Linked DNA regions of Homo sapiens: all the other regions are linked to region 1. Evidence: promoter capture Hi-C in human tissues and cell types (Jung and others, 2019). All regions are on one chromosome and are shown on one strand. The core of a region is centred on a gene start or on the middle of the fragment in contact, and the rest is flanking DNA. Distances in the headings are between cores, read along the strand shown. Region 1 holds the start of NKAIN3 (sodium/potassium transporting ATPase interacting 3). Region 2 overlaps NKAIN3 (sodium/potassium transporting ATPase interacting 3). Region 3 overlaps NKAIN3 (sodium/potassium transporting ATPase interacting 3).

What was found. Contacts are between HindIII fragments. The study calls those that stand out against the background at their distance.
Region 2: a fragment that was not itself captured here is called in contact with the fragment with the promoter of NKAIN3 in region 1 in 2 of the 25 tissues and cell types used here (H1 embryonic stem cells and hippocampus).
Region 3: a contact is called between a fragment that was not itself captured here and the fragment with the promoter of NKAIN3 in region 1, in 4 of the 25 tissues and cell types used here (IMR-90 fibroblasts, bladder, heart left ventricle and 1 more).

What each region holds. Positions count from the first base shown.
Region 1 is chr8:62,247,092-62,251,229 of GRCh38, forward strand. NKAIN3 (sodium/potassium transporting ATPase interacting 3) reads left to right here and starts at 1,763. Exons shown (of 7, transcript NM_001304533.3): 1 at 1,763-2,036. The coding sequence starts at 1,983. LOC124901952 (a long non-coding RNA gene) reads right to left here. Exons shown (of 2, transcript XR_007060932.1): 1 at 2,366-4,138. The HindIII fragment of the contact is 6,824 bases long and covers 1-3,377 here.
Region 2 is chr8:62,440,593-62,444,730 of GRCh38, forward strand. The region is part of intron 1 of NKAIN3 (sodium/potassium transporting ATPase interacting 3); the gene reads left to right. Among named protein-coding and RNA genes, the nearest start is that of NKAIN3, 190 kb to the left of the region's middle. The HindIII fragment of the contact is 3,821 bases long and covers 151-3,971 here.
Region 3 is chr8:62,393,131-62,397,268 of GRCh38, forward strand. The region is part of intron 1 of NKAIN3 (sodium/potassium transporting ATPase interacting 3); the gene reads left to right. It also overlaps the pseudogene LOC112268028. Among named protein-coding and RNA genes, the nearest start is that of NKAIN3, 150 kb to the left of the region's middle. The HindIII fragment of the contact is 3,212 bases long and covers 268-3,479 here.

The sequences.
Region 1 (4,138 bases), core at 513-3,012:
TTTCTACATGCTAAACTACTTATTTGTCAGTGTTCATTTTTTTCTATTGTTTTCATCCATAAAGAATGATGACGAGTACGTGGATTGTGCATAAAGGCAGCGTGCTCACATGATCCTTGATCACTGATGTCTTAACGCTTGAATTAAAAAAGGAGGAGGAGTTCTGACTGGACTTCTCCTGTCTCCATGATAATATCAGAGGTGGAATGTAAACAATGAATGTTCTTGACCCTTTTAATAACCCAAATCCTGAGGTTATTCATGTGTCCCTACTAGAATTTCAAAGATGTGCAGACTTCCTTGGGAATGATAACCGTCTTAAATTATAAACATAGATCCTGAAGAAACGTTTCAGAAAGGATAAAAATAAAAACAGGACTGCTTTTAACGCCTGAACTAACGGCTTGAGCAGTTTCCATGTCTGGAGTGGAAGTATTAAAAACGCAAAGATGTCTTGCCTTTTCTTACCAACCTACCGCCAAGAACCCAGGAGGGCAGCAGTGGGCTAGAAACAGGGTTTCTGTGCCAAATTCTGAAAACAGCCTTTTCTGAGATAATTGGCCTGCAGGCTTGTTCCCTGTTCTGGTGTGCTTTTGAGCTCCTTGCGCAGTTCCACCAGGTACAACAAATGCGCCCATAAAATCTGTCTTTGAGCCCTGATGAAATTTCATCCTCTGCAGAACGCCTCCGCTCTGTTTTATTAGGTGGGAGAGAGCAGGAGAGTTTCCACAGGATTCAGAGAGAGTTTGTCCGTATCTTAACTATCCGAGATCTTCTTTCCAAATCCTTCTCAATTTATTTCTGTGAAGATATATTTATACCTATTCCGGAAACCTTCTCCATTTCTAGAAAAAGCTACGCATCTTCTTCTTCCTCGACTTCTCTTTTCTCCCTCCCGGTGAGGATTTCAAAGGGTATGTGAGAAAAGAACCTTAAGCCAGGTCTCCCCGCGGCGTCCTGGCTAGTCCCGGCGCCCTGGGCGGGTGCATCGCTCCGCCGCAGCGCCCCTTGCCACCCAACTCTGTCCAACTTTCCCTTTCAGACTCCAGCAGGGGCGCCCTCCAGGCAACCGGCTGTGGCGGGCAGAAGCAAGCTCGGATGGGAGACCCCCGAGCTGCGTGCCCAGCGCCGGCTCAACAGACTTGCCCGCGCAGCGCCCGCGGGCCCCCTCGCATCCGGGCAGGTTCCGGAGCTGGGCCTTGCGCTCCCCGGCGCCCGCCCACCCTGGGTGTCTCGCGTCCCGGCCCTTCCTCCCCGGAACCCAAGCTAACCCAACTCCCATCCTCGCCACCTCTGGGGCAGCTCAACTAAGCCGTGTCCCCTCCCTTGCAAACGCGTCCGACCACCCTCCCAACCCCCAGCACAACCCTCAGCAAGAAAGCCCAGCTGGGTCTACCCAGTTACACCGGTCAACGAGGGTCTCCATCGCCGCCGGCCGCCCTAATTCACGCTCATTCATATTCATTCTCTTTTCTCTCTGTCCCTCTTCCTTTCTCCCCAAAGACTCTTAACTAGACAGGCCGATCCTCCCCAGCGGCACTCCCTTTCATTCTTCCCTTCCCACCACACACACACACACACACACACACCCGGACCCAGACAGCCCACTCCACTTTCCAGACGCCCACCTCCTACATACTCCCCTCCCCTAAACAGACATTCACCCACTCGCCATCTGTAGCCTCCTTCCAACCCCCCGCCCCGCCCGCCTGGCTCCCCCTCCCCAAGAAACAGACCTGCACAGTGGGACGCAGGGACCCCCGCCAGACGCTCGGGTCGTGCGCACCGCACTGACCTCGGCCCGCCCCGCCGGGAAACTAACAAAGGCGGGCGCGAGCCCCGAGCCCTGGAGCCGCGAGCGGCGGCCGCGGGGCCGAGGAGCCTGGGCCGGGCCGGGCGGGGACTACTCCGGAGTCAGGAGGCAGCAGCGGCGGAGGACGAGGATCTCTGGCAGTCAGCGCCGCTCGGACGCCGCCGGCACCATGGGCTGCTGCACCGGACGCTGCTCGCTCATCTGCCTCTGCGCGCTGCAGTTGGTGAGTGCCCCGAGGGCCCCTGCCCCAGGACAGGTCCCTGCTCCAGGACCGGCCTCTGCGACTCCCTCTGCGGTTCCGCAGCTCCCGGCAAGGGGCGAACGGGTGAACAGGGCGCTCCGCCCGCCTCCCACCCTCCCCACCGCCTGGCTGGGCTCGCACTGCTCTCCAGCCGCGGGCACTCGCCAGGTCGCCCCTGCCCTGCAGGAGGGCGCGGTCTCACCCCCGGTCCCATGCGCTGGGGTTCGCCGCGCTCCCGCCGGGCGTCGCCACGCGGTCCAGGGGCCAGGAGCCGGCGGAGTGAGGGATTTTCCCGCCCCTTGATCCGATACCTGGTTTAGCACCCTCCGCGTTCGTGCTGAAGTTACACGGGGACTTGCGGGCTCTTTCTTCTTAGGATGATTTCCAGGAATGTTGCTTAATTACACTGTGTGGGAATGCCCAGGTTCTGAGGAGACAGAAGCTGCCTCAACTCTGTTAGTGAAGAGTGAGGTGGTTCTAACCTTAAGCAGGTTGAAAAGTGATGGTTAAGGAGTCTGGGACCTCCAGGAAGGAGATCAGGCTGTGTGCTTCAGCCCCTGCCCTTCCAGTTCCGCTTTGGATTTTGTTGAAATGTTGCATGTTCAGGCGGCGACAGACTGACAGCTGTCATCAAGGAGAGAACAGAGTGAACCGGCTCCATTGGCGCGGTGCCTTGCAGAGGGAGTGTGTGTAATGGGAAGTTAGAAACTAGAGTGGGGAAAAAAGGCCCTTTCAGAGCAGAGCAAATGCTCCTCTTAATCCCTTTGGATCCTGGACTGGCTCTGTGGTCTATTCCATGGTCACTTGAGGTCAAGGCCACAGACCTTTTGAGTCAGACTTTTGTGTGTGAGAGATTAATAGACATCTCCCTTGCGTTATACTTCAGACAGATTCTGAGTGCTCTGCCAAGCTTTCTTCCAAGCATTGTATTTTTTTTCGAGTCACAAATATAAACTAGTATATTTTGACAAGTGAGAGGAAAAAGCTTGCAATGAACTTTACTTAGTAATGTCATCCCTTGCAAGACTTATTAACTGAGGGATAAAATCGTGCTTTTTAGTAGTTAGTCCTTGTTTACATGAAGGCTTTAGAATGTTTTCACTTTTCTCTTGCCTCAGTGTTCCAGTCTCCCATGAAAACCTCACTTTGGATGTGCCCTTCATTGTTCACATAATGCATGCATAATTTATGTATTCGTAGGTTTGAAATCAGTGACTTTTTAAGCCTATTGGATAGTGCCTTCTGTCTTGTGAAATACTTGAATCAAACATATTTTATAGTTTCTTGAAAAAAATTTTAAAAATTTAAAACAATATGAATGTTTTCTTTCACTAAGAAAAGAAGGCAGGAGCTTGATTTGTATTTTGGTTTTCAGAAATGGACATGGCTTATAAGTTGGAAAAACTGACTAAACATTGAGTCAACCCTTGATTCAATGTAAGATTATAGATAGGCATGCTGGATTGCATAATCTATAATGCCTAATTTCTATTTTACATGGAAATAACAAGTAAGGTTTTTATGTAGCAGATTTATCAATGCAATTATGATTTTCTTAACAGGCATTGTGATGATAATGTTTTTGAGATTTCATCCATCAGCCAAGCATGCCCCTTCTTTCCACTTTCTTAGTTGATACAAATGCAACTTATTTGTCAAAGCTTATCTTAAAATTCCATTTTTTAATGAAGTCTTCCTTGGTGCTCCAGGTAAAATCCCTTATATTCCTATAATCTCATAGCACTTCGCTTTTTCCTCTGTTATAAAACATTTGATACACTCTTAAATAATTTTAAGTTATTTACACATATTTCTCACCACTAGATTGTAAGCAACTTGAGGGTAGGGACCATAGTACTAGTGATCTTTACAAACTCTGCAAGTTCTTAGAGCTCATATTAGGAGCTGAAACATATTTGCTGAATTTTTGATAATACATAACATTTGCAATCCATACAGGACTTTGACATAAACATTTCTTTTGACTTTTAAAACTATCCTGTGAGGTAGATACTCATTTCATTTGTTTGCAGGTGAGGAAGTTGATATTCATAAACAGTTTTTCCATAATCAAGAGTTTTTGG
Region 2 (4,138 bases), core at 811-3,310, 190 kb after region 1:
TGTTGATTCTCAAGTTTTTGTTACCAAAAAACCCAAATCTCTTGCTCTTCATTAACTCTCTAACGACCATACTCACTCCCCTCCTTCCTTCTTTTTCTTCTTCTTCTTTATTTTTTTTTTTCTTCAAGAGAGAGCTAACGACTGTGAAATACAGATGTCAATGAAAGACCTTGGCATGCAGTGTTCCAGAAAGATTAATGTAGCCATGGGCTGCCAGAGGCAAGTAGATCTGTTTTCTGGCTATTGCAAGAGTTTATTCAGTGCAGGGTGATGAATGTCTGCTCAAAGCTGCTGTTCCGAATATCCTAATTTGTTTCGACTGCCATGGTTTTTTCAAATTTTATCCTCAAAATCATCCTCAATGCGGAACCTGTCTTGTGCTGCCATGTTACCCGCCTCCATTTTGAAGGCTTCATCTGGTGCTACTTAATCAACATTCACCTTGGTTTTTTGTTTTATTTGTTTGCTATCCTATTTCTACTTTGTTTTACCTCTTGCTTTTCATGACATCTATAGTTTTGAATATAAATATTCTCCAGGAATATTAGGTCTTATTGATTCAAAGGGCTAAGCTTTTTATTATTTTTAAAGAAGTAGGAGATAATATTACTGATTTTAAGAGATAATATGCTATTTTTACTACTATATAGCTGTGGGATTTTGTTTTATTTTATTTTGTTTTTCGGTATGCCTTCATATCTGATAAGATCAGCTGTTTTTCCTAAGTCTTCATTATAGATGTCTTTGAAAAGAATTAACATCTTTACAATGTTGAATTGTCTATCAGGGAAAAGAGTGTAACTTTATTTCTTCAAGTTTTTATATCTGTAAGTGGAATTACTAAAGCTTGAAAATCTAAAATATTCTCTATAATGTCTTGTGCATTGTTTACACAACTATTATTGTAATTCCTAAATATTTTATCTTGTGAGTTTTAATATTATCTTATTTTTAATTTTATTTTTTACTTGATTATGCCTGGTATAGGTAAATTTTTGAAAATTAATCTCATATCAAACAACTTCCCAGAACTACCTTATAATTTTTAAGAATGTGCCTGTTAACTACATTAGATTTGCTTTGTAGATGAACATATATTGGTAATTAATAATTTTTATCTATTCCTATTATTTTATTTTCTTATTACATTTTCTAGGATCTTTAGTACAATATAGAAAAAAATCAAATCTAATTAAAAACATTGATAAGAAACATCTTTATCTCATCCCCTCCTTTAAAAAATATGTACCAAATCACCCCATTGTGTTGTGTGGGGTTTTGATAAATTCTCCTTATCAAGTTAAGGGATTTCTCTGTACTTTTAAGTTTCCCAGACTTTGATTATCAGACTGAATTTCATCCCCCTTTTTTTGCATTTGGGAAAATCATATACATTTGTCTATTATTTTGTTAATTTGATGACTTGTATTGATAGATGTTCTGATATTAAATCATTATATTCTCTATTGAACATGATATATTTTTGTAAATTGTTGAGATATAAAAGCTAATTTAATTAATCTGGATTTTTTTCACACCTGAGAAATGCCTATACAATTTTCTGTTTTTAGTTATCCAGTTTAGCTTATCTGTTCCTTGAAAGCTTGCTAGAATTCTTTGTAAAACTATCAGAGCCTTGTACTATTTTGGTGGAAAGGAATATATTTAATTTATATTTCAATTTTTAATAGTCATTGTCTATTCATTAGGCTAATATTACTAGTTTTGGCATTTTATATTTTTCTAGAAATGTATTCTGTTTTAGATTTCTAAATTTATTGGCATATGGATGCACAAAACAGTAGTTTATTATTATAGCATTAATACCTGGAGATATTTCCCTTTCAAATTCTATAATATATTTATTTGGTCTATTGCCCTCCCATAGACACTGAAAAATAAGTATTAACAGAGGTTATCTAACTTTTAGTATTTTCAAATAATCAATTTTTGGTTTCCTCATCTTTTTGACTGGTTAATGTTTCTTTTTTATTTCACTGATTGCTGCCTTTAATTTTTTTATTTTCTTTTTATTTTTGGCTTTATTATAGTATTTTTTATGTTTTTTATAATATCTAACTTGTTTTCACTTCCTCTTGTGGTCTGATAGATCCATTGAAAGCTGTAATTTTTCCATAAATTTCTTGATTGAGCTATGCCCTCAATTGTTGATATATAGGTTTTTAATTGTCACTTAGCTCTAAATTGTTCCTTATTCCCCCATACCATTACCATTTTGACCCAAGTTCATCTGGTCATAAGTGTTTTAGGATACAAATATGTCCATTTTTAACTATTTTCTTCATTGATCTAATTATTTTTCACTTGATCAGTGAAAAATATATCATACATAATATGTATGATATTGATGTTTTGAAGTTTATTGAGGCTTCCTTTGAGAGTTCATTCAGCATTGACTTTTGTGTATATTCCATGTGTACTTAACATGTCTTTTCTCCTTGTCTGATATAAAATTAGGCATATATCTATTAAGTTTATGAGCCATCTTATTCAAAAGTTCTAGAATTTTTCTTATTCTTTTTTCTTTATCAGTTTCTAAGTTTTCTCTTTTAAAATCCCAATCACAATTGTTCATGAACAATTGTTTATGAATCTATTTTTCCTATAGATGTGATGATTTCTGCTTTTTTGTATTTCAAGTATAGATAGACTCATAATATGATTATTATGGACTTTTCACTTATTATCTTTCGTAGTATTATATATTGTCCTTCATTGCTGCTTTCAATTTACTTGTTGTCCTACTTTGTATTTTAACTGATATTTTATTTATTTTATTTTATTTTTTGAGACAAAGTCTCACTCTGTCACCCAGGCTGGAGTACAGTGGCACAATCTCGGCTCACTGCAACGTCCACCTTCCGGATTCAAGAGATTCTCCTGCCTCAGCCTCCCGAGTAGCTGGGACTAGAGGTGCGAGCCACCATGCCAGGCTAATTTTATATTTTTAGTTCAGAAAGGGTTTCACCATCTTGGCCAGGCTAGTCTTGAACTCCTGGCCTCAAGCGATCCACCTGCCTCAGCCTCCCAAAGTGCTGGGATTTATTGGGGTGCGTGAGTCACCATGCCCAGCCTTGACTGGTATTTTAACTGCCACCACAATTGTCAATTAGTTATTATTATTTTCTTATTTTATAATTTTTCTCTTCTCTTTCTTTTTGATTTTTTCTGCATCTTTTTGCCACTAATATGTATATCTCATAGGTAATATTTTAGAACAATTTCTAAAAATTCATTCTTACAGAAATAATTTTTTGTTGTAAACTATGCTCCAAGCAGTCTTGTAAGCACTTTGCCTGTATCATCTCATTTCATTTATATAAAGCTCTAACAGGCATTACTGTTAGCGTTACTTTATATATAAAAAACAGCCAGTGGAATTTTAAATAGCTTGCCTAAAGATAAACAGTTAATGGTTCCAATACTTGAACCTGAGCCTATACTCTTTACCACTATGACGTGCTGCCTTCTAATAAATTTATAATGCCTTTTTATTGATATGTAATACATGTACATATTTTTGGGATACAAGTGATAATTTCATAATTTATATAATATATAATATGTGAAGGACAAATCAGGGTAATTGAGATATCCATCACCTTAAAATTTTATCTTTTCTTTATGCTAGTAACCTTCAAATCATTATCTTCTAGCTACTTTGAAATGTACAATTGATTAATATTAGCTATAGTCACCATACTGATCTATTGAACACTAGACCTTATTTCTTCTTCCTAACTGTGTATTTGTACCCACTAATCAACATCTCTTTATCCCTCCTCCCCACCTCTTGTAACAACCAATCTACTCTCTATCTCCATGAAATCCACTTTTTTAGCTTCCACCTGTGACTGAGAACATGCAGTATTCATCTGTGTTTCTCTTAATAAAGTCACTCCCAGCTCTATCCATGTTGCTAAAAATGATAGGATTTCATTATTTTGTATGTCTTAGTAATATTCCATTAGGTATATATACACCACATTTTCTTTATCCATTAATGGACAATTACCTTGATTCCATATTTTGGCTATTGTAAATAGTGCCAATCATGGGAGTGCAGGTATCTCTTCAATATATTTATTTCCTTTCTCTCAAATATACACCCAATAAC
Region 3 (4,138 bases), core at 624-3,123, 150 kb after region 1:
AAAGAACTAAAGTGTTTACATTTGTAATACAATATTCTATGGTTGGTATTGAGGAAATTGATAAAGATTTCTCCCAGATTTTCTTCTAAAAGCTTTATAGTTTTACCTCTTATATTTAAGTTGATAATCAGGTTTGTATACTTTTTGTGTATGGTATGAGGAAAGGGTCAAAGTTTTTTTTCTATATTTATATTCATTTATTCTAAATCCATTTATTGAAAACACGATCTTCATTTCATTGAATTTCCTTGGTATCTTTGTTGAAAACCCATCTACAATATAATAATTGTGGGTATATTTCTGGACTCAAAATTCCTTTTAGTTGATCTTTATGTCAATCCTTATGCCAATCTCATACTCCTTAGAGTGCTTTTATTGTAAATCTTAAATACCAGCTAATTTGATTCATCTGATTTTGTTTTTTCTTAAAAAAATTTTTAAGCTTTTCTAGATTATTTGCCTTTCCTTACAAATATTAACATTGGCTTGTCAAATTCTTATATAGAGACTGCTAGGATTTTGATTCTGAATGTATTCAATTTATAGTCAATTCTGGAAGAATTGACCTCTTAAAAATGGTGAATTTTCAAATTAATAAAAAAGTATATATTTCCATTTAGATAAGCCTTAACTTTTTAAAGCAATGCTTTAGAGTTTTCAGTTCACAGACATTGCACATCTTTTTGTTAAATTTATTTGTAAGAGTTTTTCTTTTTATGGTATATGCTGTAGTTAATTAAAATTTGATTTTATTGTCAGGTTGTTTATTTCTGGTGTATAAAATAAAATTGATTTTTGCATGTTAGTTTATATCTTGAGAATGTGTTAGACTCATTAGCTTTAGGAAGCTTTATATTAGGTTCTTTAAGATTTTCTACATACACCATGTCATATGCAAATAAATGCACTATTGTTACTTCCATTCTAACATGTGCCTTTCATTTATTTCTTTTTTGTCTTGCTATACTTGCAGCGGTGAGAGTGGACATTCTTTGCCTTTTTCCCAATTTCAGGAGAAAACATTCTGTTTTTCATCATTAAATATGAAGTTAGTTTTACATTTTTCATAGATACGCTTTATCAGGTTAAAGACGTTTTCCTCCATTTCTCATTACATTTTTTTTTAAATCATGAATGGTGCTGAATCTTGTTAAATGTTTTTTCTTCCTCTACTAAGATAATCTTACAGTTTTTCTCTTTATTACATTTAGGTAATATGCTTAGATACGTTACATTTATATAATACTACATTTGTTAACCTTCGGATGTTAAACCAACTGTGTATACATGAGAAAAATTACATTTGTTCTTGGTGAGTTATTGTATTTTTTTCTTGACTGTAATTGCTATTTTTTTTTTTTAATTTAAAAGTAAACTTTAATGTCAAAATGCAAACCTGGGGAGGGCATAAAGATCACACACAAGGCTGCCACTTCACACTTGGAGGGTTGCACAGTGGCCAGTCAAAGGCGCTCCTCACTTCCCAGACAATGTGGTGGCCAGACAGAGGTGCTCCTCACTTCCCAGACCTGGCGGCAGCGGGGCAGAGGCGCTCATCACTTCTCAGACGGTGGGGCGGCCAAGCAGAGGTGCTCATCACTTCCCAGACGGGGTGGCGGCTGGGCAGAGGCGCTCATCACTTCTCAGATGGTGGGGCGGCCAAGCAGAGACTCTCATCACTTCTCAGATGGTGGGGCGGCCAAGCAGAGGCGCTGCTCACTTCTCAGACGGTGGGGCGGCCGGGGGAGGCGCTCATCACTTCCCCGACGGGGCGGCGGCTGGACAGAGGCGCTCATCACTTCTCAGATGGTGGGGCAGCCAAGCAGAGGCGCTCCTCACTTCCCAGACGGGTCGGCGGCCGGACAGAGGCGCTCATCACTTCTCAGATGGTGAGGAGGCCGGGCAGAGGCGCTCCTCACTTCCCAGACGGTGGGTCGGCCAGGCAGAGGCGCTCATCACTTCTCAGATGATGGGGCGACGGGACAGAGGTGCTCCTCACTTCCCAGACGGGGCGGCGACGGGACAGAGGCGGTCCTCACTTTCCAGATGGTGCAGCGGACGGGCAGCAGCGCCCCTCACTTCCCAGACCGAGGGAGGTGCGGGGAGAGGTGGCCAGGCAGAGGCGCTCCTCACTTCCCAGACATTGCGCGGGGCCGGGCGGAGGCCCCCCTCACTTCCCAGACGGTGGGGCGGCCGGGCAGAGGCGACCCTCACTTCCCAGACCGAGGGAGGTGGTGGTGGGGGGTGGCCCGGCAGAAGCGCTCTTCACTTCCCAGGCGGTGCGGGAACCAGGCGGAGGCACTCTATTTGGTAATATCTTTAAGGATTCATGAAAAAAAAGTCTATGAAACAAACAAATTGAGAATCGTCCCATTGTACAGATTTAAAATTATTTTAAGCAAGAGACTTTTCTTTATAGCTAAATATCTAAATATCAGAGTATTTTTTGTAGATGCTTATGTAAATTCTGGAACGTTGTTTTCAATTTTAATAAAGATATTTATCCAAAGTTCCACACACATCCACATATCCACACACATACATATATATCCTGATATCTATCTTCATTAGCAACATATCTTAATTATACATATATCTTAATTTGATAGATATCTTAAGCTTCTCTGAAGTGATAAGTAGATATAGATCTCAATTAGATATACATATTAGAAGATAGAAATACTTGAGCAATTGATCAATAGAGGTTCTGCTTTTTAAATTAAAAAAGTAGTTGCATAGCTATTTTTAAATGTTAATTATTCTTTCAAAGAAACTGATGAATTTTCCTGTTAAAAAATTGTAAAATGTGTATTTAAATCACCCATATAGTGAGGCTTAAGTCTCCAGATTTATTACTTTATGAGCTACCAGAATTATAGAAATGTGGCAATTTATTTTGAAGAAAAAAGAGGTTTTTAAAAATGTACTACCACATTATTTTAATAGCACACTATACAGACATCAGTACTTACAGGGAAAACCTTAATCCTTTAGTGTAATGTTTAGTGTTAATTATGTCTCTCTCACACACACACATGCACACACACACTTTCTTAGAGCTGCTTTATTTTTATCCTCAGAAGACCCTTATGCACAAAGGTGATTGTTTCCACTATAGAAGCTTCCCTTGTGTGATTATTTCCCTTTTAGAATCTTAGGCAGTTCAGTTTAGAGAAGTCCCCTCAAAAGCCCCCTTCTTATTTGGCTAGGCCGCAACCCGGTGCCTAAGCCTATACTCTCCTTAGTGTATCAGTGCTCTTCAGGACAATTATACAATGAAAAGCTTAGGCTTTTCTTACAAAGGCAGTTTATACTGGAATGTAAATTAATTTACAGAATTAATTCTCAGATATTCCTTGTATTAAAAGGACAAGGTATTTCCTGGGCACTCCATAGCTTAAGATACCAATGTGTTTATCATAGTATTTTTATTTCACTTTTTGCTTAAACAATTGTGGCTCTTAATTTATAGTAGAATAAATTTGATGTGTGTGTTAACTTTCTACTAATTAATAACCTGATAATTTTAGCCCTACTTACCCTGTCTATTCTGCTAAACCAAATTACAAAATTTACACTTTACTCCTATGACAAGTTCTTCATTATTTTGCCCCTGTAACTATTCTTGTGTTAATCACTATTAGGAAAATGTCCCCTACCTATCACTTCAGAGAAGCTTCTTATTGCGGCTTTGTTTCCCAGGTACCAGGTTATAACGACTTACTTTGGTATTTGTTATACCAAGTGATTGTGATGTCTGAACTTCCCTGACCTCAGTTTATCATCAGAGGGAAAAAGGACAAAAGCCCTTGAGCGGGCAGTGATATACATACAGGTTTTAACAATTTATTGTGCACGACAGATGTAAACTAAATATTATTTAGGATATTGGGATATGTGGGGTGTTCTTTGGGGTGTTCTAGAAGAATCATCTTAAAACTCTCCCAGCACAAAAGTGGTGTGTCTGTTATCAGTGGTGCCATCACAGATCTTTAAGGTTTTAAGGTTTAACAGGAAAGCCACTGGCCTCAGTGCTCGAAGGACCACTGATCCTTGCTACCACCCTGATATTTAATTAGAGGAGAAAATAAACTTTATCATCCCATTTGTGCCTTTTATTATCTTTTTCCTTAAAAAA